Regions from separate parts of the Homo sapiens genome. Here all the other regions are linked to region 1. The links are contacts of gene promoters, found by promoter capture Hi-C in blood cells and fetal thymus (Javierre and others, 2016). All regions are on one chromosome and are shown on one strand. Each heading gives the region's core, a stretch centred on a gene start or on the middle of the fragment in contact. The rest is flanking DNA. Distances are from core to core; before and after follow the strand shown.

The links. The method cuts DNA at HindIII sites, captures the fragments that hold promoters and counts their contacts. A CHiCAGO score of 5 or more calls a contact.
Region 2: a fragment that was not itself captured here is called in contact with the fragment with the promoter of EHBP1-AS1 in region 1 in 2 of 17 cell types (M2 macrophages and M1 macrophages); the score reaches 5.8 in M2 macrophages.
Region 3: a fragment that was not itself captured here is called in contact with the fragment with the promoter of EHBP1-AS1 in region 1 in 5 of 17 cell types (M0 macrophages, megakaryocytes, endothelial precursors and 2 more); the score reaches 8.5 in M0 macrophages.
Region 4: a contact is called between a fragment that was not itself captured here and the fragment with the promoter of EHBP1-AS1 in region 1, in 1 of 17 cell types (neutrophils). The highest score is 5.6, in neutrophils.

The regions. Positions count from the first base shown.
Region 1 is chr2:63,045,718-63,051,285 of GRCh38, forward strand. It overlaps EHBP1-AS1 (EHBP1 antisense RNA 1), which reads right to left and starts at 2,804. Exons shown (of 4, transcript NR_033389.1): 1 at 2,672-2,804; 2 at 765-933; 3 at 320-424. EHBP1 (EH domain binding protein 1) reads left to right here. Exons shown (of 23, transcript NM_001142616.3): 23 at 1-770. OTX1 (orthodenticle homeobox 1) reads left to right here and starts at 5,113. Exons shown (of 5, transcript NM_014562.4): 1 at 5,113-5,180; 2 at 5,532-5,568. RefSeq lists enhancers at 1-6, 2,116-2,864, 2,843-4,251, 2,865-3,614, 3,615-4,362 and a silencer at 4,479-5,138. The HindIII fragment of the contact is 1,878 bases long and covers 1,344-3,221 here.
Region 2 is chr2:62,434,969-62,440,536 of GRCh38, forward strand. The region is part of intron 2 of LOC105374764 (a long non-coding RNA gene); the gene reads left to right. Among named protein-coding and RNA genes, the nearest start is that of TMEM17, 68 kb to the right of the region's middle. The HindIII fragment of the contact is 6,784 bases long and covers 1-5,568 here.
Region 3 is chr2:62,453,704-62,459,271 of GRCh38, forward strand. All of the region lies in intron 4 of LOC105374764 (a long non-coding RNA gene), which reads left to right. It also overlaps a transcript of TMEM17 not described here. Among named protein-coding and RNA genes, the nearest start is that of TMEM17, 50 kb to the right of the region's middle. RefSeq lists a silencer at 3,126-3,685. The HindIII fragment of the contact is 3,662 bases long and covers 345-4,006 here.
Region 4 is chr2:62,502,707-62,508,274 of GRCh38, forward strand. It overlaps TMEM17 (transmembrane protein 17), which reads right to left and starts at 3,489. Exons shown (of 4, transcript NM_198276.3): 1 at 3,324-3,489; 2 at 1-88. The coding sequence starts at 3,423. It also overlaps the pseudogene RPL37P13. RefSeq lists silencers at 2,388-2,682, 3,020-3,189, 3,400-3,669. The HindIII fragment of the contact is 5,299 bases long and covers 1-5,270 here.

The sequences.
Region 1 (5,568 bases), core at 1,554-4,053:
ACAATTTCCTTGAAATCCTGTGAAATAGATTTGCACAGACACCTTGTGAGTGATTGGTATTGGAGGTGTTCAAGAAACTGTTCGAAAAAGAACAAAAACACTTCCCTCGTTATTTTCTCTCATTTTTTGATGAGAGGAAAATTTGAAACATTATTCTTGTTGTTGTTGGTAATAGCATAATGACAGTGGGAGGGGTACAAGGGGATAAGAAAAATGTCATGATTTTTTTCCGGTCCTGCCACATGTAACACTTACTCTGTTACCTAAATTTTATAGTTAGATCATATCCAATCTACTTATTAAACTGTGTTCTATTTACCAGTGGAGTTTTTCTGCAGTGGTTGCGTTTCACTGTAAGGATAATGGAGTTCCTCTCCTCTGCTTTCCTCAGAGGATGGTCCTTTAACATAGCCAGAAACAAGCCCTGTGGTTTGAAGGTGAGCTGTGAGGATGGGACTAATTGATATGCACCAGTTTACAAAGACAGTCTTATCATCCGAGAATACACCATCTTTTTCTCTGGATAATTATTTCTTACATCATGCTTGATTCCTACATTTTGTTGGGTCTCAACATTGGCTCACGAATGCTGTTAATATTTATTCTGTATTGATAAAAAGTCTGTCTTGCCACTACAAGTAAATCCCCCATTTAATATTTTCTTCTTTAGCATAGCACTGTCATTTTTTGTGAAAATGGTTATGTTTATTTATTACAATACTGAGTCATATATAAATTTTCAATAAAAGCAGAAACTTTCTTACCTTAAACACGGCTGCTACTTTCTTGCAATGAAAACTTGACATTGGCTTGAATGGAAGTTTGTCTATCCGTAAGACTTTTCATGTGGAAAATGGTCCTCTGGAACTTAGGGCAGGATACTGGGCTGCATTTGAAGCTGAATAAGTTTACACCATCCCAGAGGGGGCCCTACTGACACACGAATGCGAATTGAAAAGTAATTAGTCATATTCTTAAGCAGTATAAACTATCATGTCTTTTGTAAAGGGTCATCTCTGCTAAAGATTTGAGGAAATTTGTGATTCCACACCAATGAAAAACCAATATTTATATCTTGAATTTTCCACGTCATTACTTTGAATTGTTAGAGTTTTGAAGTCGTATTAGGGAGAGTCGTGTCTTCTGATAACCGGCAAGTCTGTAGGTACTGAAGTGAAAGGAAGAGGGTTATTGTTGGGGGGCGGGGAGAATGTATGCAGGTATGTGTGTATGAAATGAGGGAAAGAGAACTTTTAACAAGAAGTTCTAGGCTACAGAAAAAAAAAAAAAGCGATTCTATGCTAGTTTCCTTCATTCCCCCACAGGGGTGTCCAAACAAAGAAAGCTTGTTCAACAAGTCCAGAAACTTAGAGAAAAAAGTCCACTAGCATTTATACTTCAGCGTAGATCGTATGTATGTGCACACAAACAAATTTCGTTCCAAGTATGCAGCCACCTCCAGTTGCCAGTCTTTCAAAATGATAAAAACTTGCTACGGTAGAATTCCTTCATGATGAGCATTTCTTTTAAGTTATTGAAAAGTTATTTTAAGTAAATGAAGTCGGTATTTGCCCTCTTTATTCGAGCACGAGAGCAGAGAGAGAGCTGCTGCTCTCTGGGGAACGCTCTCAGAATCCCGTTCTAACCCCGGGAAAACTCAGCAGACAGAAATCGCCCGCCCCAAGCAGCCTGGGGCCTGGGCGGCCAACAGCACCCACCCAGTTTACGCTTGATTCGAGGAACCTTCACTCCCGAGGGGCCTCGCCGAAAAGCAGCTCCTTCGCTCCCGAAGCCGCTCCCAATCGGCCAACTGACAACCCTTCCCTCGCCCCAGATTTGCTAGGATGGTCTGGGACCGCCGGGCGGCCCCTCTACCTGCCCCTTCAGCTTTAGTCCCGAGCCTCTCGGGGTTTCAATTTGGGCTGCTCGGTGGCGCCCGAACGCCCCTCAGCGGCGGTGGAGCGTGGACTCCGGCGCCTGGCGGGGTAAGGCCCGCGGCAAGGGCGCTGCATCCGGACATCGCTGCGTGGTGCCCAGACGCTGGCTCCCGAGAACGGGCACGAGCCCAGCACGCCGGAGGACCCGGAACTCGAAAGCCCGCGCTGCGGGAAAAGAGACTATCGGTCCGAGGGTCGCAGAGGAGCAGGGGCGTTGGCAGCGGGCTTGCTTGGGCACAGTCTGCGGGCCGGAGCAGAACTTCCGCCCCTGGTCAGATCCCTCGGCCTCAGATCCAAAGCCCTCCCCTTGTCCCAAGTGTCCTCCAGAGCCTGGCCGGGCCTGGAGGTCACCTGGATGCTGGATCCTTGTCTCCACACCCAGCTCCCTCGCCCCTTCCCGGCTCGAGGGCCTTGAGCTGGACGGCTTCACCTCCTCCAGTGGTGTCCCCACTTCCCCTTCCCGCACCGCGGCCGATGCTGGAACGGTCATGGCTTCTGGCCCAGCATCTCCCACCTGGACATTTGCCTAGCGACGGCCGCCTCAATCCTCTGCGCTGCTTTCAAGAAACTTTCATCCCAGTCTCTCTCCCTCTCCACTCTCCTCCCTCTCCCCCTCTCCTCTTTCTTTTCTTAATCCTGGGGTTTTATGGGCTGAGCGTTAAGAAAATTCGCCTGCAATTTGGGATTAGATAAATACTCTAATTAGGAAAAAAAAAATCCGTGCTACTTGATACCTCCCAACTTCCCCGAGAATGGTGGCAGCATCTGGAACCGAGAGCGCCGGCCTCCCGCGAGGCGTACCCCGGGGACCGCGCTGGCACATTCCAGAGCGCACTGCCGTCCCACCTCGCTGCGCCGGACCCAGGTCAGGTGCTGAGGCTGCAGGCGAAACAGGGCCTGGTGGAGGGAGGAATGAGTTAAGGTGGAGGAATGGGGCAAGGTCACGCGCCCCGGCACTGGAGGGCCAACCCCGGCACACAGCGGACTGGCCGGGACTAGGGCAGCGCCGGGCTATGGACGCGGACGCCGGCGAAGCGCACCCCGGGACGTCCGCATATTCTTTCCCCCAAAACTAGTGCGCTCCAGCCGGCGCCTTTCCTCGGAACCTAAGGAAGGGGTATATTTCGTTGCTTTCTTTAAACCTCAGCACGATCACAGTGGCTCCGAGCCGCGGGCGGCTGACCGCGGGCCTCGCGGGCTACTCCTGGTAGGGGCCTGCGCGAGCCTAAGGTGTGTCCCCGCCTGGGTTAGCGCTGCGCTCTGCACTGTTTCTTTTCCTCTTAAAGCTTCTTTCTCACTCACTCTCTCCCTCCTTCTCTCTCTCATTTTTTCCCCATTTCTCTCGTTCTTTTATTCAGCTTTCTCTCTTTCTCTCCCTTTTGTGAATGGGCCGCGGTGTCTTTGTTCTGTAGAGAAGCGCCCGTGTCGCTGACTTTTGTGAACCAGAGAAGGATCTTGTAAAACCTCCTTTTCTCCTTCGTACGCCCCCACTCCCACCCCTCCTCCCCTGCCTCTTTGATTAGATGTTCCCTCATCGTCAAAAAAAAAATGTAATTTCGTTGGTCTGGCGGCCACTTTCTTTGAACATTAGCTCGCTTTCAGCTCCAACTTCAATTAGAAGGAGTTGATTTTGAGAGATCAACAAAAGAACCGACCAAAGCCTTATTAAAGGTCCTAAGAAGATCTCCCGGGTCCTTTGAGAAGCAGTTAAGGAAACAGTGTGCCCTCCATCATATTCTGTTACCGTATTTTATTCGGACTCCAAAGGAAAGTGTCGCTTGGGGGAGGGGGAAGCACTTTGATGAGCGGCGGCCGCGGCCCCTTTTCACTCAGCGGGCTCCCCCTTCGTTCTCCTCCTCCTCACCCAGCGCCCGGTCCGCTCTCGGCGCCCGACCCCGCAGCCCGGGCAGCGCGAGTGCTCCCCACTGCGATGCGCCTGGAGGCTCCTTGACTTGCCCTCACACTTAATCCTGTGCAAACTTTTTACCCCGCCTGTCGGGGTGGGGGAGTGGGGGAGATTAGAAACAAGGGGTAGAAATTCCTCGAAAGGGAATAAAGTGCCTAATTTTCAGGAGGAGGTGCCATTTAAAAGATTCGCCTAGCTTAGAGTTGGAACGAAAACTCTTTTTTGCACTTTTAAAAGTCCACCCAGGTAGACGTGTTTGGGAAGTTTTTTCGGGTGGGAAATGGGCTTCGCCCGTACGAACAATCCGGGGAAATCGCCTCAAGGAGGATCCTTACGCAGCATGTGGAAAAAAGTTGAGGGCAGGGGTCTGTGGCCACATTTTCCATCAAAAAGTCCCTGTTAGAGGCAGTCTAAGAAAGAGAGAGAAAGAGCGAAAAAGAAACTTTCCTATCAAAATGTTTCAATTAAGAAGTAGGGTGTACGTGTGAGGGGAAGAGGACGCTGGGCTCCAACGTTTCAGTAGAAGCGCTTAAGACTTGCAAACACCCTTGGTGGGGACCTGGAACCCCGGGAGATGCCGACGAGCAAGCAGGTAAGTGGCGGCGCCCTCCCAGTGGGTGCTCTTCCCAGGCGCGAGAGTCCGGAGGGGCCGAGGAGAGATCTGCACGCCCGGAGCTGCTCCCGCGCTCTGCAAAGTAGCCTGCGCCGGCACGAGCAGCCCGCGGCGTCGGTCTCAGGTGGCGGCGCCGGGGAAGAAAACGCTGGGGCCCGCGGCGCCGGGAGAGGGGCCGAGGCCCGGGCTCCTCCAGCCCGCCGCCCCCGGGTCCTGGCGCCCACACCCGAGCGGCTGAGCCCTGTAGCGCGCGGGAGAGCGAAGGAACCGGTTCTCCAGCACCTCGCCTCCTCCCTGCCACTCCCTCCGGAGCGCCGAGAGCGCGAGAAGGGCGGGGGCGCCCAGGGCAGGCCTGGAGACCCACGGCCCCCTCCGCGGCCAGGACTCGGGCTCTCCGCTCGCCTTCCTCGCCTAGCTCTGCGCCGCTTTTGCCAGCCGAGTCCCGGAGTTAGCGCGCGACCGGGGCGGGGCGGGAGGGCGGGGAGGGCGGGGTGTGGGGGGCGGGGGAGGGCGGGGGCGCGCGGAGGTAACCCCCGGCTCGCGCAGCCATTGCCCGGCTCCCTGTCACTCAGCCCGCGCGGGGCCCCCGATTGGCGGCCTAGCCCCGTTACGCACTCGCCTCGCGTTCACATACCCGGGGAGGGCAGTAGAAAGGTGATCAATCTTCATCAGGCTACATTTCCAATCACCTAAACAACCGAGCAAGACAAGCCACTCCGACAAGGTAAATCGCTTGATTTATTTAGTTTGCAAAGTGACTCTGCAGGACTTCCCAGTCCCCACTGCCTCCACGTTGCACCGGGAGTGCCGCGGCAACGCCGAGCCACCTCCCAACTCTGCCCCTCGAATTCCCCCCCTTGCGGCCCCTCGGCGCGATCCCAGGCGAGGCAATGTCCTGAGAACGTGTGGGGCTTAGCAAACAAAGTGTCTGTGCAATAAAGTGAAACCCAGAAGGACACGCACAAAGCCATTGAAAAAAAAGATAGAGGTGGGAAGAAGGAAGTTGGGAAAAGAAAGAAACCTGGGGGTCCTAGACCAGCCGCCAGGGTAATTCCAGTGCTGCTCTGTTTTGCAGGTTGGCTGCCCGGCGGGTCTCTGTGAGAGATCCAGGT
Region 2 (5,568 bases), core at 2,049-4,548, 610 kb before region 1:
TGTCTGTGCAGGATTCTAGAGCAGGCTGTGCTTTTGACATCTGTTGTATTGGCCAGAGGAGAAGGGACGAAGGAGAAGTCTCCTCCTGGTGTGTTTCTGAGTGGTGTATTTCTGTCAGGCCTGGATTTAGATGCTTTGGAGGTGAAGAATGAATTGAATGAATTTTCTACTATTGTTTCCTCCTGTATCCACCTGTATCTGGTGTGTGTGTGTGTGTGTGTGTGTGTGTGTGTGTGTGTGAGAGAGAGAGAGAGAGAGAGAAAGAAAGAGAGAAAGTCTTGCTCTGTCACTCAGGCTGGAGCATGGTGGTGCAATCACAGCTCACTGCAGCCTTGCCCTCCCAGTCTCAAGTGATCTTCCCACCTCAGCCTCCTGAGTAGCTGGGACCACAGGTGCATGTCACCACACCCAAATGATGTTTAAATTTTTTTGTGGAGATGGAGTCTATGTTGCCCTAGCTGGTCTCAAACTCCTGGGCTCAAGTGATCCTTCTTCCTTGGCCTCCCAAAGTGTTGGGATTACAGGCATCATGGACTAGCGAAGGCAGGGAATGCTCCATAAGGGAAGAAATACTTGATTTTTGGAAGAATTTAGGTAAGAAGGTTTTTCCCTGAAGGTTAGTGACATGAGGATAACAACAGTAAAGATCAGCTATTAGATCCATGTGATACTTGAAGGCCAACATGCCCATACTCTTTCTGAGTCTACTCCCTGGGTTTCTGTCGATGGAAAGGTGATTATATAGTCCAAACTTCTATAACAAATGGCTCTCCAAGTGAGGTCCTCAGACCAATAACGCCCCATCCCTGGGAACTTGTTAGACATGCATAGGCCCCACCTAGACCTAAGGAATCAGAAATTCTGAGCCCAGCAGTTTCTATTTTTGACAAGTCCTCTCTGTGGTTCTGATGCTCACTCAAGTATGAGAACCACTGTCCTGCTTTGCATCCACGTCTGCTAAGTAGACTCTAGTTATTAGGAACAAGAGACATGTTTGTTCTCAGTTACATTTAACTTATATTGGGTTGAAACCTCTCCCTCTAACTACCCCCACTGGTCCTGTGGCCTTATTACTGGACTTATGATTATTTACGTCCATCCAAGTGACACAGTGTCAAATAGCTGACAGGCTCTTATGTGTTCAGCCAACATTTACTGAGTAGCTCTCATTTGCTAGGTACTATACTAAGCCCTGGGAATGTAGCAATGAACAAAATCAAAGTATGTTCTTCCATGCAGCGTATGTTCTAGTGGGGGAGATGGTCCATTGATAGAACTACCATATTTTTATGTTTAGGTGATAGGAAGAAAAACATAAGGTTGGGAGGCTACTTTTGATAGTGGTTAGAGGAGGCTTCTTTGAGGTGATGTTTGAGTAGAAAGCTGGTTGAAATGAGAAAGCCAAATGAAGAGAGCGTATCCTGGGAAGTGGGAACAGTAGTGTCACATCCTAAGGTAGGAATGAGCTTCACGTATTCTTAAGAACAGAAAGGAAGTTAGTATAGCCAGAAGGGAACGAGCAAGGAGGAGAGATGCAGGAAGTAAGGTCCAGGAGGCAGTGGCCAGATCAAGAGAAGCCTTAGAGGTCCTGCATAGGTGTGTAGGGGAAGATAATTGTTTTTTCTACCCTTTTAGGTTCTCCAGCTGGTGTCCTGTAAATGAGACTGGCCAGAGAGACATTAACAGAAGAAAAATAGTTTCCTAACATGTGCATCACACATGCACATATAAGAGCACTCAGTGATAAGTAACCCAAAGGGGTAGTTAGAACTTGGGTTTAAATACCTGTCAACTCAAGAATCATGAGGTCCATACATTTGGAAAAGAGAGCTTTATTTCTTATAAAGGGTTGCAGCCTGCAGGCTGGCCACCCTCAGGCTGGGGCGTACTTCAAAGGAGGAAAGGTGAAATGAGAATTTATGCTGAAGGGTTAGCTAAGTATACATATTCAACAGGTTATCGGAGGAGCTGTGAATATTCAGAAGGGGGATGTATACATACATACTAAGCAAACATGCATGTTACATACATCCCATGTTCACTCTGGGGGTGGAGACTGAACACTTAAATGCATTAGAATCAGGCTCTCTATCAAAGAGTGAAACAGAGGTCACAGAGGCATCCTGTGCACAGCCTCTGTAAACCAGCCACCACCAGTTCCTGGCTGGTGGCCCCCTATCAGGAGGGAATACTGGCTAGTATTTGTATCAAACTGCAAAAGGGGAGAGGAGTCCTGCTAAAATCAGTGGTGGAGCAAGTCTTTTGATAGGGATGGCTTTGGTCAAGGTTGGTAGCCCATGCCTGTAATCCCAGCACTTTGGGAGGCTAAGGGAGGAGGATCACTTGAGGCCAGCAGTTCAAGACCAGTCTGGGCAACATTGTGAGACCTTGTCTCTACTTAAAAAAGAGCTAGTTTCTGTTTAGCCCTTAGGAAACTAGGCCTAATGGCAATTAGGGAGGGAAGAGTATAATGGGGTCTGTCTGACCTCCCATCTGGTCATGGTGGGGAACTCAGGTTTTAAGTTTCCTCTGGGGTATGCTTGGCAAAGAGGGGGTCCATCCAGTCAGTTGGGAGCCTTAAGATTTTAGTTTTATTTCTCTTAACGACAACAACAACAACAACAACAACAACAGGGTTTTAGGCTCTTAGAGAAGGCAGGTTATGGGAAGACGATCCTGAAAAGTACCGTAAGCAAGGGTTGTGTATCAAGGTTTGTTACACAGATTGATGCCTTCTCCATCGAGAAGAGTTAAGAATCCTTCCTTTCCTGGAGGGGGAAACACCTCTACGATGGGAAATTTCCTTTATAAATATAAATTTTCTTTACGATATAAAAACTTGTTTTTAGAGCTTTTTCTGAATCTGCTCGTTCTCAATGACGTTTAGCTGAAAATAATTTATACGCCAATGGTGCACATTTTGGGGTGGCATATTCTGGTACCCCTCAGGTGTCAGTATGGTTTTATGTCACTTTATGACAGGAATATGTTCTGAGAAATGCATCACGTGATTTCTTTCTTGTGTGCATATCATAGACCTACATAAACCTAGATGGTACAGACTACTAGGCACCTCAGCTGTATGGTACAGCCTCTTGTTCCTAGGCTACAAACTTGTATAGCATGTTACTGTACTGAATGCTGTAGGCAACTGTAACACATTGTTCAGTACTTATGTATCAAAGCATACCTAAACATAGAAGAGGTACAGTAAAAATATAGTATAAAAAATTAAAATGGTACACTTGTATAGTGCACTTACCATGAATGAATCTTGTAGGACTAGAAGTTGTTCTGGGTGAGGCAGTGAGTGGTGAGTGAATTTGAAGCCCTAGGACATTACTGTACACTACTGTAGGCTTTATAAACACTGTACACTTAGGCTACACTACATTCAAAATTTTGTTTTCTTCAATTACTAACTTTAGCTTACTAAAACTTTTTTACTTTATAAATTTTTTAGTTTTCTTTTTGATTTTTTGTAATAATACTTAGTTTAAAACAAGTACATACAGCTGTACCAAAATAGCTTGTTTTTTAGAGACAGGTCTTGCTTTGTCACTCAGGCTAGAGTGCAGTGGTGCAATCTAGTCTCACTGCAGCCTTGACATCCTGGGCTCAGGTGATCCTCATGCCTCAGCCTCCTGAGTAGGACAACGGGTGTGTGCCACTATGCCTATTTTTTTTTTTTTCTTTTTGGTAGAGATGGGGCCCAAGCAATCCTCTTGCCTTGGCCTCATAAAGTGTTGGGATGACAGGCATAAGCCCCCACACCCAGCCAATGTTTTCCTTATATTCTTCTATAAGCCTTTTTCTATTAATTTTTGTTTTTTTTTTACTTTGTAAACTTTTTTTGTTGGAAATGTGGACACAAACATATTTGTCTAGGCCTACACGAGGCTAGTTCATCAAGACTTCACTAGGTGATGGGAATCTTTTAGCTCCATTATAATTTTATGGGACTACCATTGTGTATGCGGTTCATCGTTGACCAAGATGTCATTATGACATGCAAGAGTGTATTTCATTTTGAATGATGGGCCAGCTACTAAAAGGTATTGATATGAGCACGGTGGTATCTATCTTTGAACAAAAATCACTTTATATAATGGACCATTCCATGAGTATAAGCAGGGAGATGAGTTAGGGAGATGCCAAGTGTGAGACATGGCAGTATGGAGGTAAGGGTGAAAACTAGTTGGATTCTAGATACTTTGGAGGAGGAGTCAACAGGACATGCTCATGGATTAGTCTGGGGTGGAGAAGAGTTAAGCAACTGACTGGAGCCTTTTTTTTTGTAGTCTAAAGTCTTCCCCAAAGCCCCACGTCAATAGAGAGGATAGGAACAACATGGAGGGATTCACAGGATTCACTCTCCTCTGAGTGCCTCCACTGGCCATCATAGGCTGGCTTGTGTACTTCTCCACAAACATGATTTTGTCCATAACTGGACCATGTCCTCAAGGGCCATATCTTAGGCTTTTCTGAATCTTCCACCCCTACCCACTCCCAATAGAATAAAAACAGTTGTGAGAACATAGGAAAGCATGCTATGGACTAAACCTGGGCTAAAACCCTTTCAGGTAGTGATGACAGCCTTAGAGATGAGGAAACAGACTCGGGGAGTAAAGGTACTTTCCTGATAGTAGCGACCATTTGAGACAACTTCCTGCCTGCCCAACATTGTGCTGGGAATTTGGGCGGCAAATGGCTGATCTGGGTGTTACACCAGCAGCTTCTCAATTTATGTTGCTGCTGAGCAAATGATGCCTCATTGTGATCTGTCTGCTGAAGGAGTTCAGAAAATGCCACCCCAAAATATGCTTTGGTGTGCTGATTGCTTTGAACTGAGGGCATTTTGAGAGACAGTGGATGAAGGCAGAGGCTAGCTTTGAGCTCACCTTATCTGCCTAAAGACAATCCTCCAAAAGGAACTCAACTGTCAAGACTTCCCCAGGAACCTCGTCAACCAAGACCAACTCATAACACAGGAGAGGAGACTGAGGTTTGACTCCGTGCCCAGACAGACTTCGTCATAGGCTGTCACCTTTTCTTCTGAGGGCCCACTCATCTTTCCCAGCATCAAATGAAGAATCACGAGGTTCGTACATTTGGAAAGGAGGGTACCACGACCTGCAGGCAGGACGTGGAGCTACTAGCTGAAACTGAAAAGCAAGTGCTCTGAGGGAAAGAAGGATGAGATGGGAATTTATGCTGAAGGGCTAAATACACATATTCAACAGGTTATGGGAGGAGCTATAAATATTAATGAAGGGGAGTGAGTGCATGTGTAGTAGGCTAACATGTATGTAACGTGCATTCCATGTTCGCTTTGGGGTAAAGACTTAACATTCAGTTAGACTCTACAACAAAAAGTGAAGTAAAGGACAGGAAGGCCCTCAGTGCACAGCCTCTGTAGACTGACCAGAATCACTTCATGATTGGTGGTCTCTATTAGGAAAGAATGCTGGTCTGTTGCTGTGTCAAAACAGCAAAAGGGAGGGACGGCATTAGGTGATTGGTTGAAATTGGTGAAGCAAGTCTGTCGAAAGCTGGTTTCTGTTTAAC
Region 3 (5,568 bases), core at 926-3,425, 590 kb before region 1:
GTGGGGCTATTCCCATTCCTCTGTTTTAGGCCTACACTTGTCATTTTGCAGGGGAGACCATTGGAGAGGATGCTAGAGGTCTTAAATATGGTTCTCACCCACGGTTTGCTTGCTTTTATTAGACTGAGCTAAAGGGTGGGGGAATTCACATGCCATGAGAGAATAGATACTTGCCTGTGCTTGCATCTCATGGAGGTAAGAGTGGGAGAAATTTGTAAAGTAGATCAAGAAGAAAAACTTTGAGTTAGGCAGGGTGGGTCCTGAGTTTCTGGAAGCAGGGCCACATTCTCTGCAGTGCCAGGCATGGGCCTGTTTTCTAGAAGGAACTCTTTTACTTAAAGGAAAGCTTCAGGATGAGGGGTGCCTGTAAGCTGGCCTTAGCGTTTTGAGAGATGCAGAGCTAAATGGGATTGGCAGCTCTGATCTTGCTGCAGCAGCCTCCTGGCCCAGCTCCCACATCTTAACCTCCCTGGAGAGCAGCCTAGTCGGCAGAGTGGAGCTGGGGAGAGCTGGATGGGATGAGGTGCAGGACCCTACTGAGAGGAGGGGAATGCAGTGTCTCCACAGACCCAGCTCTGGGGGTGGGAGGAGCAGATTCCATGCCTCCCTCGTGGAAAGCAGAGGCATCAGGCATGGGGTGCTTTTGTGTGAATCGTGGCTGCATGAAGCATGTACTGGCTTCCATGTTGAGCCCTGGTAAAGGTATGAGGCAAACAGTGTGCAGCTCTGTTCCCACTGCTCCCCAGAATGTAAAAGGTGGCACAATATAGCTGCGGTACAGGATGGTAGGGCTGCCCACTGGGATGATCCAGAGAAGTGCTGGGCCATAGTCCCCAGGTGTGGTCTGTCACCAGGCTTTCCATCATACTGTAGGTTTTGAAATCTTTAAGGTCCCGCTCTTAAAATGCAAATACTCCTGTGAGGTTTGAGGTTTTATTATCCTATATCCTAGATTTGCCTTTAATAAAACAAAAAACCCAGCTTTATTTATTTATGTATGTATTTATTTATTTATTTTGAGATGGAGTCTCACTCTGTCGCCCAGGCTGGAGTGCAGTGGCACGATCTCAGCTCACTGCAAGCTCCGCCTCCTGGGTTCACGCCATTCTCCTGCCTCAGCCTCCTGAGTAGCTGGGACTACAGGCACCTGCCACCACGCCTGGATAACTTTTTTGTATTTTTAATGGAGACAGGGTTTCACTGTGTTAGCCCAGGATGGTCTCGATCTCCTGACCTAGTGATTTGCCCGCCTTGGCCTTCCAAAGTGCTGGGATTACAGGCGTGAGCCACTGTGCCCAGCCGAGACCCAGCTTTATTGAAGGTCCAATTTGCATATCATAAAATTCATTTTGAGTTGTGCCACCATCACAATCCAACCTTAAAATGCTATCACTCCAAAGATACTCCTACTTGTAGCATTCCCATTCCCATTCCCACCCTGTCCCTGTCCCAGGCAACCACTAATCTTTCTGTCTCTATGGATTTGCCTCTTGACATTTCATATAAATAATACAATATGTGGTCTTCTGTGTCTTGCTTCTTTTGCTTAGTGTAATGTTCTTGAGACTCCTCCATATTGTAGCATAACAGTAATCTGTTCCTTTATATTGCTGAGTAATATTCCACTGCAAATACCACATTTTCATTCACTGATGGTGAACATTTATTTCTAGGTTTGGGCAGCTATGAATAATGCAGCTATGAACATTCATAGCTTCTGTTCTTATATGCACATATATTTGGAGTATGTGCTTATTTTGGGTAAATTACTTCTAAAAACTGGCCGGGCACAGTGGCTCACGCCTGTAATCCCAGCACTTTGGGAGGCCAAGGCGGGTGGATCACCAGAGGTCAGGAGTTCAAGACCAGCCTGGCCAACATTGTGAAAACCCGTCTTTACTAAAAATACAAAAATTAGCTGGGTGTGGTGGTGGGTGCCTGTAATCCCAGCTACTCGGGAGGCTGAGGCAGGAGAATTGCTTGAACCTGAAAGGCAGAGGTTGCAGTGAGCCGAAATTGCACCACTGCACGCCAGCCTGGCCGACAGAGCAAGACTCCGTCTCAAAAAACCAAACAAACTACCAAACTATTTTCCAAGTCAGTTGTACCATGTTACAATCTCATCAGCAATATATGAAAATTATAGTTCTTCCACACTTTTGACATTTGTTATTGTCTTTTATTATAGCCATCCTAGTGAGTATGAAGTGGTATCTCATTGTGGTTTTAATTTTCATTGCCCTAATGCTAATGATTTTGTGCATTTTCTTTTCATGTGTTTATTGACCATTCATATATCTTTGATAAAATGTCTACGTGGCTGTTCCTTTTTAAAATCCAGAGACAGAGAGATGGTCAATTTCCCTGGGAGGTGTAGAGGTTTATCGGGTTCACTGTTTGATCCCAAGTGCTGAGTACAAGAGTCAGAGAGTAAAGGGTCATGTATTAGCGTCCTGTGGCTGCTGTAACAAATTGCCACAAACTTGGTGGCTGAAAGCAACACACATTTATTCTCTTTCAGTTCTGCAGATCAGAAATCTGAAATCAGTTTCACTGGGCCAAAATTAAGGGGTAAGCAGAGCCTGCAGGGGCTCTACATTTCCTTGCCCTTTCTAGCATCCAGAGCTGCAGTGTTTGCATTCTTTGGCTCTTGGCCTCTTACCCATCTTCAAAGCCAGCAGCATAGCATTTCCAAATCTCTCTCTCTGTCTGCTTCCTTTGTCATATGGCTTTGTTTGTCTTCTGTAGTAAAATCTTCCTCTGCCTCTCTTTTAGAAGGACCCTTGTGATTACATTTAAGATCCATCTGAATAATCCGGGATAATCTCCCCACTCAAGGGCTTTCAGTCACACCAGCAAAGTCCGTTTTGCCATGTAGGGTAATATTCACAGGTTCCAGGGGTTAGGACCTGGCTGTCTTTGGGGGCCATCATTCAGCCCACCCAGTCAGTAACCTGTGAAATGCACGTGGCCCCATCAGCTCATGGTTCGGGGTTGGCTGGTCTTGAGGAAGACATCAGGCTGAAGGAAGTCTTCTGGAGGTAGGCCCTGGAGGGAGACCAGAGCCAGTCATGCTAGAGACCTCTCACCTCTTTCTTCTGACTCATCTCCTTTCTAGAAACTATGATATGAGGCGTTTGATAGCACGTGTGAGCCTGGAGGTGCTGAGGCAGCTAGCACTGTTACCAGGGTGGCGGCGGGGACAGGACCAGAACTTGGGGCCTCGCGCCCAGGTCCTCCCGTCCTTGCCTTCTCCCAGCTCCCCTCCAGGCTAACCACCTCCACGCGGGGGCCGGGTGCTGCTGCTGCCCTGAGAGCTCAGCCCCTTTCCCGGGGCGGGCACCGCTTCCCGGTCCCGGGCCTCTCTGCTCTCCCGAGGCGATAGCCACCCTGCGATCTCTCGCGCGGCCAGCAGGGGCCAGCATCCCCCGCGGAAAGGGTCGCTGGGCTGGGCTGGCCGAGAGCCGGGGATCGGCGACCCCGGGCGCCGCTGCCAAGCCCCCTGCCGTGCGGGCTGCTGCTTCGCCGTCCCAGCCCCGCAGCCTTTTGTGTCTTTCCACTTCTCCCCTGGCCCGCTGCGCTCTCGCTCTAGAGAAGGCAGAGACTGCCTTGGGTGTGGCAGCCAGGAGTGGACGGTTGCGGGCTGGGAGGCTGGCCGGGTTTCCTCCCCGTCGCGGACCTGGAGGAAGGGCTGGGTGCGGCGGGAAGGCCCCGGAGGGAGAGCTGAGCCTGGGTTGGTAGCATGGTGAGGAATAGCGGCCTCAGGGGCAGAGATGTCCGTTTCTTTGTGCACCGAAAGCTCTGAGAAGGACATCCCGATACCAGTGAACTTCTAGATTTGGAATGAGCTTCTTACCGAGCATCTCACATTCCAAAGTGCATCTGATTCGGAAGTCCTCGTGGTTCTACCTTCGGAAGGTGGGGGTGGGGTGGGCTGCCTGGGTGCAGAGGGCTGAGCCAGGCTGGTGGGAACTCCTCAGCGTCCAGCACCTGTGGGGCTGCAGCAAGCTTTTGCTGCTAGGCTCTAAACGAAGCCTGTAATTAAGGCCTTAGTTTAACTGGGTGCGCTCTCACTTTTATCTGTGGCCTGGCCTGAGCGGTTGCCTCCAGCAGCCTCAGCTACCCTCACTGCTTTGCCGCTGAACCCAGGAACGGCTATTCCACTGCAAGGGAGCTAAGACCTTCATTTGTTGCACCAACGTTTTCCTCATGGCTTATGTCTCTAGCCTCAGAGAAATCAGAGATTAGAGCCCAGATCTGGGGTCAGAAAAAGACCCGGGTGTTAGATCTGACTTTGCTACTAGCTGGGTGGCAGAAGATGGGGGAACACTTCGCTCCTTTCTACCTGTTTCCTCCCCTTGTTAAATGCGGAGGCTAATGACACTTACTGCAGATGGGGAAGCTAACAGCACTTACTGCAGAGGGTGTTGTGAGGAATCACTCAGCAAATTCTTGTAAAGGGCCAAGGTTAGAACTCAAGCCTTTTAAAATCCCATCTCTTAGTCTGGGCGGATCCCAGGAAGGTGTCAAGTCCAGCTGATGGGCATAGGTGTGTCCGTGAGGCAAGCCTGCTCTTGATGGAGCACGACAGGAAATGCAGCCTGGCCCAGCTGACAGACCTATCTACAGCGCATGTCCTCACAGGACCAGACCCTTCTGCTCCCCTTGGCTCCAGCTCCTAGATCATTCTCAGCAGTTCATTCCACGTGTAAGTGCACGCCCTCAGTTACTGTAGGAGCCAGACCACGTGGGTTCAATGTCAGCCCAAGATCCACCAGCCATGAGGCTTTGGGAAAGTCACTTCACCTCTGTAGGGACTGATTTCCCCATCTGCAAAATGGGCAGAGCGTGACCCATCTCGAAGCATTGTGGTAACGCATGGGGTGCTGCTGAATGGGACTCATTGCACTCTGCAACCTGGCTCTGGCGATTCAGACCGTGAATGCTTGGATTTTGATGGTAAGGCCAGAAAATGTTTAAAGGAGAGAACCCAGGATAAGTTGGGCCTTCTGGTGAGGTTCTTGCTACTCCTGGACAGCGTGCCCGTGTCTGTAGCAACTCAGGGCGAGGCAATGCTCTGGGGTTCCCAGACATCTGTGAGCGTGACAGCTGGTCCAAAGCTGTCTTGGATGTGTTTGTCCTCTCTAATCAAAAGAGTCCCTCGTGATGCCAAGATGGAACTCTGCAGACAGTTTGAGGAGAAACTAAATTCTGGTTTTGAAGTAAACTTGGCCTCAGTCTTTAAGGCAGATTCACAATCTATTATGAATAAAGCTGCTAGGAACATTTGTGTACGACTTCATATGGACATATGTTTTCACTTCTCTTGGATAAATATCCAGGAGTATAATTTTTGGGTCATGTGGTTTCCTTGCTTGTAGAATTTCTGACTGAAAATTGTAAGATAGTTGGATAATTGTTCCCTGGAGGGAGACATTTCAGATATGACAGGGAGAATGCCACAGGTATTGGGAGTCAGAGGTGGTTTTCATGAATATCAGGCAGCATTTCTGTAGTTGAGGGGTCTGCCTTCCACCTTGACTCAGCTCTTGAGGGCAGCAGCTGCAG
Region 4 (5,568 bases), core at 1,371-3,870, 540 kb before region 1:
ATAATGCTGCTCACCCACCACAGTGGGAAATAGTAGGTATTAAAATAAAGTGACATCTGCAGTGCCAAACTGGAGACCATTTCATTTTCTACAGAAGGAACAGAAAAGGAACAAATGATGAATCTTGGGTTTATGCCCTATATATATATATCCTATTCCCTAGAATTAATAACTATAATATTGGCTCAGTAAAACACCAAATTTTATGCCTATTTATAATCATTGACAGTAAAAGGAATATTCATCCTAATACCAGTTAGGTCAAATATTGGCTATTTGGGGGTACGTTTCATATTTTTCAATTATTTTACCATTTTGCCATTACAGTCTTCTGACTTTTTGGCATATACTACTGGTATAGATTTAATGTAGAATATCAACATAAATCCTATTCAACAGATAATTATCATTGCCTCTTTTGTAGAATTCTATGTAAATAGCATATAAAATTAATGCATAAAATAAATAAAAATGAATCTCCCACAGATAAACTAATCTTATACAAAAACGGATTACCAAGGTTATAATTAGACACATCTCTCTTTTCAGCATACCCTAATCTTAGCCATTCTTTAAAGTCCAATTCAGTGTCATCTTTTCCATCAATACTTCCTTCATCAGTTCCCCCACCTCAGCAGAAATACCTTTCCCCTTTAGGTACTTACCACTCTAAACTGTCAATAAGAAGTGCTAGCAAAGAACCACACTCCCCTCCCCAAAAAACAGTCTGGTGTACTGAACAGATCATGGGCTTCAGAGTTCAAGCAAATCCGAGCTCCCCAAACCTCTGTGACCCTGGATGTCAGACTTGACATGAATTATTTAAACTCTTTGAGCTTCTATTTCTTCATCTGTAAAATAGTGAAATTAAAACTTCCTCACAGGCTGTTTGTGAGAATTAGAGCCAATATAAATTATTTCATCCTAGCACTGTGCCTGGCACACTTAGTAGGCACTCAACAAATATTAGTCCTCTTTCCTTCTTCTCTTCTACTTATCTACAGGCTCATTGCAAGCACACACCATGTCCTACCCTAATTTGAGACCCTCATAGAATCTAGCATCTTGCTTTCCACGCAGTGAATATCAAATACACATAAGAATGAATTAATGAAAGTATACTGTCATAAGGACATTACTAGCATAGCCATTTGTGATACATGAGTTCCATTTACCTAAGGTTGATTCCATAACACTTTCTGCTTTTATGTAAGAGAGCAGGGTCCTAGATTAAGAATTTGATTTTTAAAATTGAGCCCTACAAAATACATCCTAAATTTGACTAAATTCTTAAGAGCAGACACATATATTGAAATCAGTTGCTGTACACGTAAGATTTTAAAGGCTCTAAAATAAATGTCTTAAAAACATTATTTTCTCCTTTTCTCCATAGCTGAGTGTTTTTATCTGTCACTTAATTATTTTAAAATATAAGAAATAGTCATGGTCTCTCACAGCAAAATAGTTTCTTTTAGCTCCAAGAATATGCCTGATTATTATGATCTACTTTTGCTTGCAACTGTTTATTAAATTACCACTGATAAAGGAATGAATTCTTAAAATCTGTTAAATCTGAAGACAACTCACCAGCCTAGGATCTTTTCGATAGCAACAGTACAAAGCTGCGGACATGGTAATGACATAAACTTGTTATTACAGTACAAATAATCAAACCTACTTCCAATCCACAAAGAAGAAAATTTGGGAAAGAATAATAAATTGGGCAAGCTGAACATTTCAGTACCTTTGAGAAGAAACTGTAGTCAAATTTTGCAAAGAATGGTTTTCATGTTAGAAGTATTGTGTGTTAACATCTTAAAGGTTATGCTATGTCCATATTTCAGCAGATCAAACTTATAATCATGGAAATGAAAATCAAATTAATATGTAAATGAACCTTAAAAGCGTAAGACATAAACTTACTAAATTTTGCAAAAGTTCAAGTTGAGTTCTGTAAATGGAATTTAAATTAAAACATACAATATAAATCAGGGATAGGTAAACAACTGGCCAGCTGCCTGTTTTTGTACAGTCAATGAGCTAAAAATGTTTTTTCACGTTTAAATGGTTAAAAAAGTAATATTTTTTCCACACGTGAAATCCATATGAAATACAAATTTCAGTGTCCATAAAGTTTTATTGGAACACAGCCCTGCCTATTCAATAACTATTGTCAATGGCTGCCGTGGAGACCATATGGCCTACAAAGTCTAAAATATTTACTATCTGGTCCTTTTCAGAAAACGTCTTTTTACCTTGTATTATCAGACGTTAGTGCTCATTAAGCCTCATCCTTGGAACCAGAAACGTGAAAACCTATTTTTTTCACATTTTTCTCTGTACATCCTAAATCATAAAGGCCTACATTTGGGAAATAGGCAAGTGATCAAGGTGACAAAATGCAGCTTTGGGAACTGCCTTTACTTTTCTCTGTCCCTTTTAAAAATTCTCTAAAACCAAGCAGAGGAAAAGATTGATATTTCCCAGCAGAGTTGAATGATGAAAACCACATGGGTTTGGTTGACAGTGTGTTGTCTACCATCATGATGTAGGAGGAGGAAACTGTTCTGGAGGAAACTGTGTTATCACTTGACATCAAGTTAAAGGACGCAGAAGCATCATGGTATTTTGTTACCTTATGATAAGAGTTACATATAGGGGAGGAGGAGAAGGCAGGGAAGGGGTGAGTTTTGTTGAACGCCCGGCTAGTATGGCACATGCCAGTGGGAGTGGATGGTGGTTTGAAAGGACTCATTAACTTTTTTTTTTAATGTCTTCTACGAGAAAATGGCCTTGCTTAGGAACATACTTGTTCTGCTAGGAAAAGGGAAAAGGCAAATTTGTTCCCTGGGGTGGGGGTGGGGACGGGGGAGGTGGGATTGCTTGGGCTATTCCTCGTCATCCTGGACAGAAAAGCCGGGGCGGGCGCCGCAGAGGCAAAACAACTTGGGCCTTCGCTCTCGCGGCGCGCGGGGGACCAGCCTGTGCAGCAAGGGCGGCTTTTATCTTTTTATTTTTGGGGTTTCTCCGGGACAATGATGGGCCTTGCGCGGCACAGAGATCGGCCCCACGTCAGCTGCCGCGCTTGCAACAAGCTGGCCAGGGAGCACCACGCGGAGACCAGGCCCGGCCGGGGGCGGGAGGCCGCCAGCGCCTCAGCTCCCTGTCCGGCCCGGCCCCTCCTCCAAGGCGCTCTCCCGCACTGCGGAGAACTGGCTGAAGGCGACATCGCCATTTTAGGTACGGGCAAATTCTGGACGCTCCAAAATCCACGCCAAGCCCTCGGCAGGCCACACCCCCTGCACCGGGCCTCGGTCACTCACCCGGACCCTCATTGGACTCTGGACCGGTCCGATTGGAATCACTGAACACGGCCCGGCTGAAGTTTCCCAGCCGCTGGCGCACCGGATCCGGCAGCTCCATGCCTGGGCCTCAGTATCCCTCACCCCCTCAGACACGGGCTAGTCTGCGGGCGCTCCGAGGCTCCGTGGTTCCCACGGCAACCGGGCGGCGCGAGGCCGGCGGGACCCGGGAGCGCGCGGGGCTGCCCGGCTGGGCTGGGTCTCGTCCGGAGCCCGCGCAACCTGGAAGGGACCGGCGCGCTCAGAGCGCGTTCCAGGCCCAGGGAGCCGCGCGCCTCGGCCGTGTACAAAACGGCAGATCCCTTAGTTCTGCTTTGAGCTCGACCATCCTAAAAACAAACCTATACTAAGAAATGAGCTGGGGTTGGACTGCGATACAAGGAGCCCTCACATTTGCCAGTGGAACTGTAAATCGGTACAACCTTTCTGGAGAGAAATAGAGAACGAATGCAGAGCTTAAAGAATGTCTAGAGGTGTAGGGGTGTGTGTGAGAGAGAGAGACATCATGTGACTGATTATTTTTTAATAAGAAAACAGCAATGGGCAACTGATTAAATGTACTGGAGCACATACATTCAATGGAGTATGTTTCAGCTGCTTATAAAATGCTTGCAAAGGATATTGAATGGTATAGTTTAACTTTATGTAAAAATACAGCAGAAATAAAACTAAATGAGAATGAACCTAATTTAGCAAAATTTATGTGTATGAGTGGAGGGGAGGAGAGAGCGTGTGCACACTGGCTTGAAAAAAAGAACTGGAAAAAAGTCCAAAATGTTAACAGTCGTTTTCACTGGATAGTGGGATTGTAGGTGATTCAAAAATTTTTAAACGTCTTATTTTCTAGCTTTCTCTCAAGATATATTACTTAAAAAAAACTAAGTGTAATACACATACAGAAAAATTGTACACCTTTTGTAAGTAATATATATTACTTAAGAAATAAGTGTAATATATATACATAGACTGAAATCTGTATGTGTAATCAGCACCCTGTTCAAGAAACTTTACAATATTCCCAGAAACTCCCCCTTCCTATTTCCTTTCAGTCACTAAACCCACTCCTCACTCATAACTGACCTTTCCTGAATTCTAACAGCAAAGGAGAGTTTTGCCTTTTTTTTTTTAAATCAGAACATTTATTGTGTGACTAATCTAAAATTTTTTTTTTTTTTTTTTTTTTTAGACAGAATCTTGCTCTGTCACCCAGGCTGGAGTGCAATGGCACAATCTCGGCTCACTGCAACCTCCGCCTCCTGGGTTCAAGTGATTCTCCTGCCTCAGCCTACCGAGTGGCTGGGATTACAGGTGCCCGCCACCACACTCGGCTAATTATTGTATTTTTAGTAGAGACAGGGTTTCGCCATGTTGGCCAGGCTGGTCTCGAACTCCTGACCTCAAGTGATCCACCCGCCTTGGCCTCCCAAAGTGCTGGGATTACAGGTGTGAGCCACCGTACCTGGCCTGAAATTCTTAAGATGAACTGGATGCTGCAGCAGCTGTCCTCTTGGGTTTAGGTGGCATTCCTTTAAAAAATCCATGCCTTAACCTGCTGTACACAATTTTTAAGTGCCTCATTCGACCAGTCCCACTGGTATATTTTTTAGCCTCGGCACTCCAATTATACTTTATCTTGGCTTGGGAGGGTAGCCGCGTTTGCCACAGGCGGACTTTTGAAGGAGTTAGAGTCACAGGGCAGCACTAGCTGTGCATCTTATCGCACCACTTTCTAGATGATGACACTCCCTTTGTCATCTTGCTTCTGTTTTGCATATTTATATAAAAGCAATCATACTGTAAGTACTTTTTTAAAAAACTGGCTTTGTCTTCAACATTACTTTCATGAAATTCCTTCATGTCATTGAGTGTAGATTCTTTTGCCTTGCTCTTTGTGATCATACCACAATAAGCTTACTCATTCTACTGTTGATGAGTGTCTGTATTTTCTAGTTTGGAGCTGTTGTGTATAGTGCTGCTTTGGGGAAAAGATGCCTCTTGGTGAACATATGCATGCATTTTTGTTGAGTGTATATCGAGAGTGGAATTGCCGTGTCATAGGATACGAAAGACCCAGCTTTAGTAGAGGCTGCCTACAGTTTTCCAAAGTGATCAAACCAATTTCTGCTGCCTCCAGCAATGTGTGAATATTTCCATTACTCCATATACTTCACCAACACTTGTTATTTCTTATCCTTTCCTTTTAGCC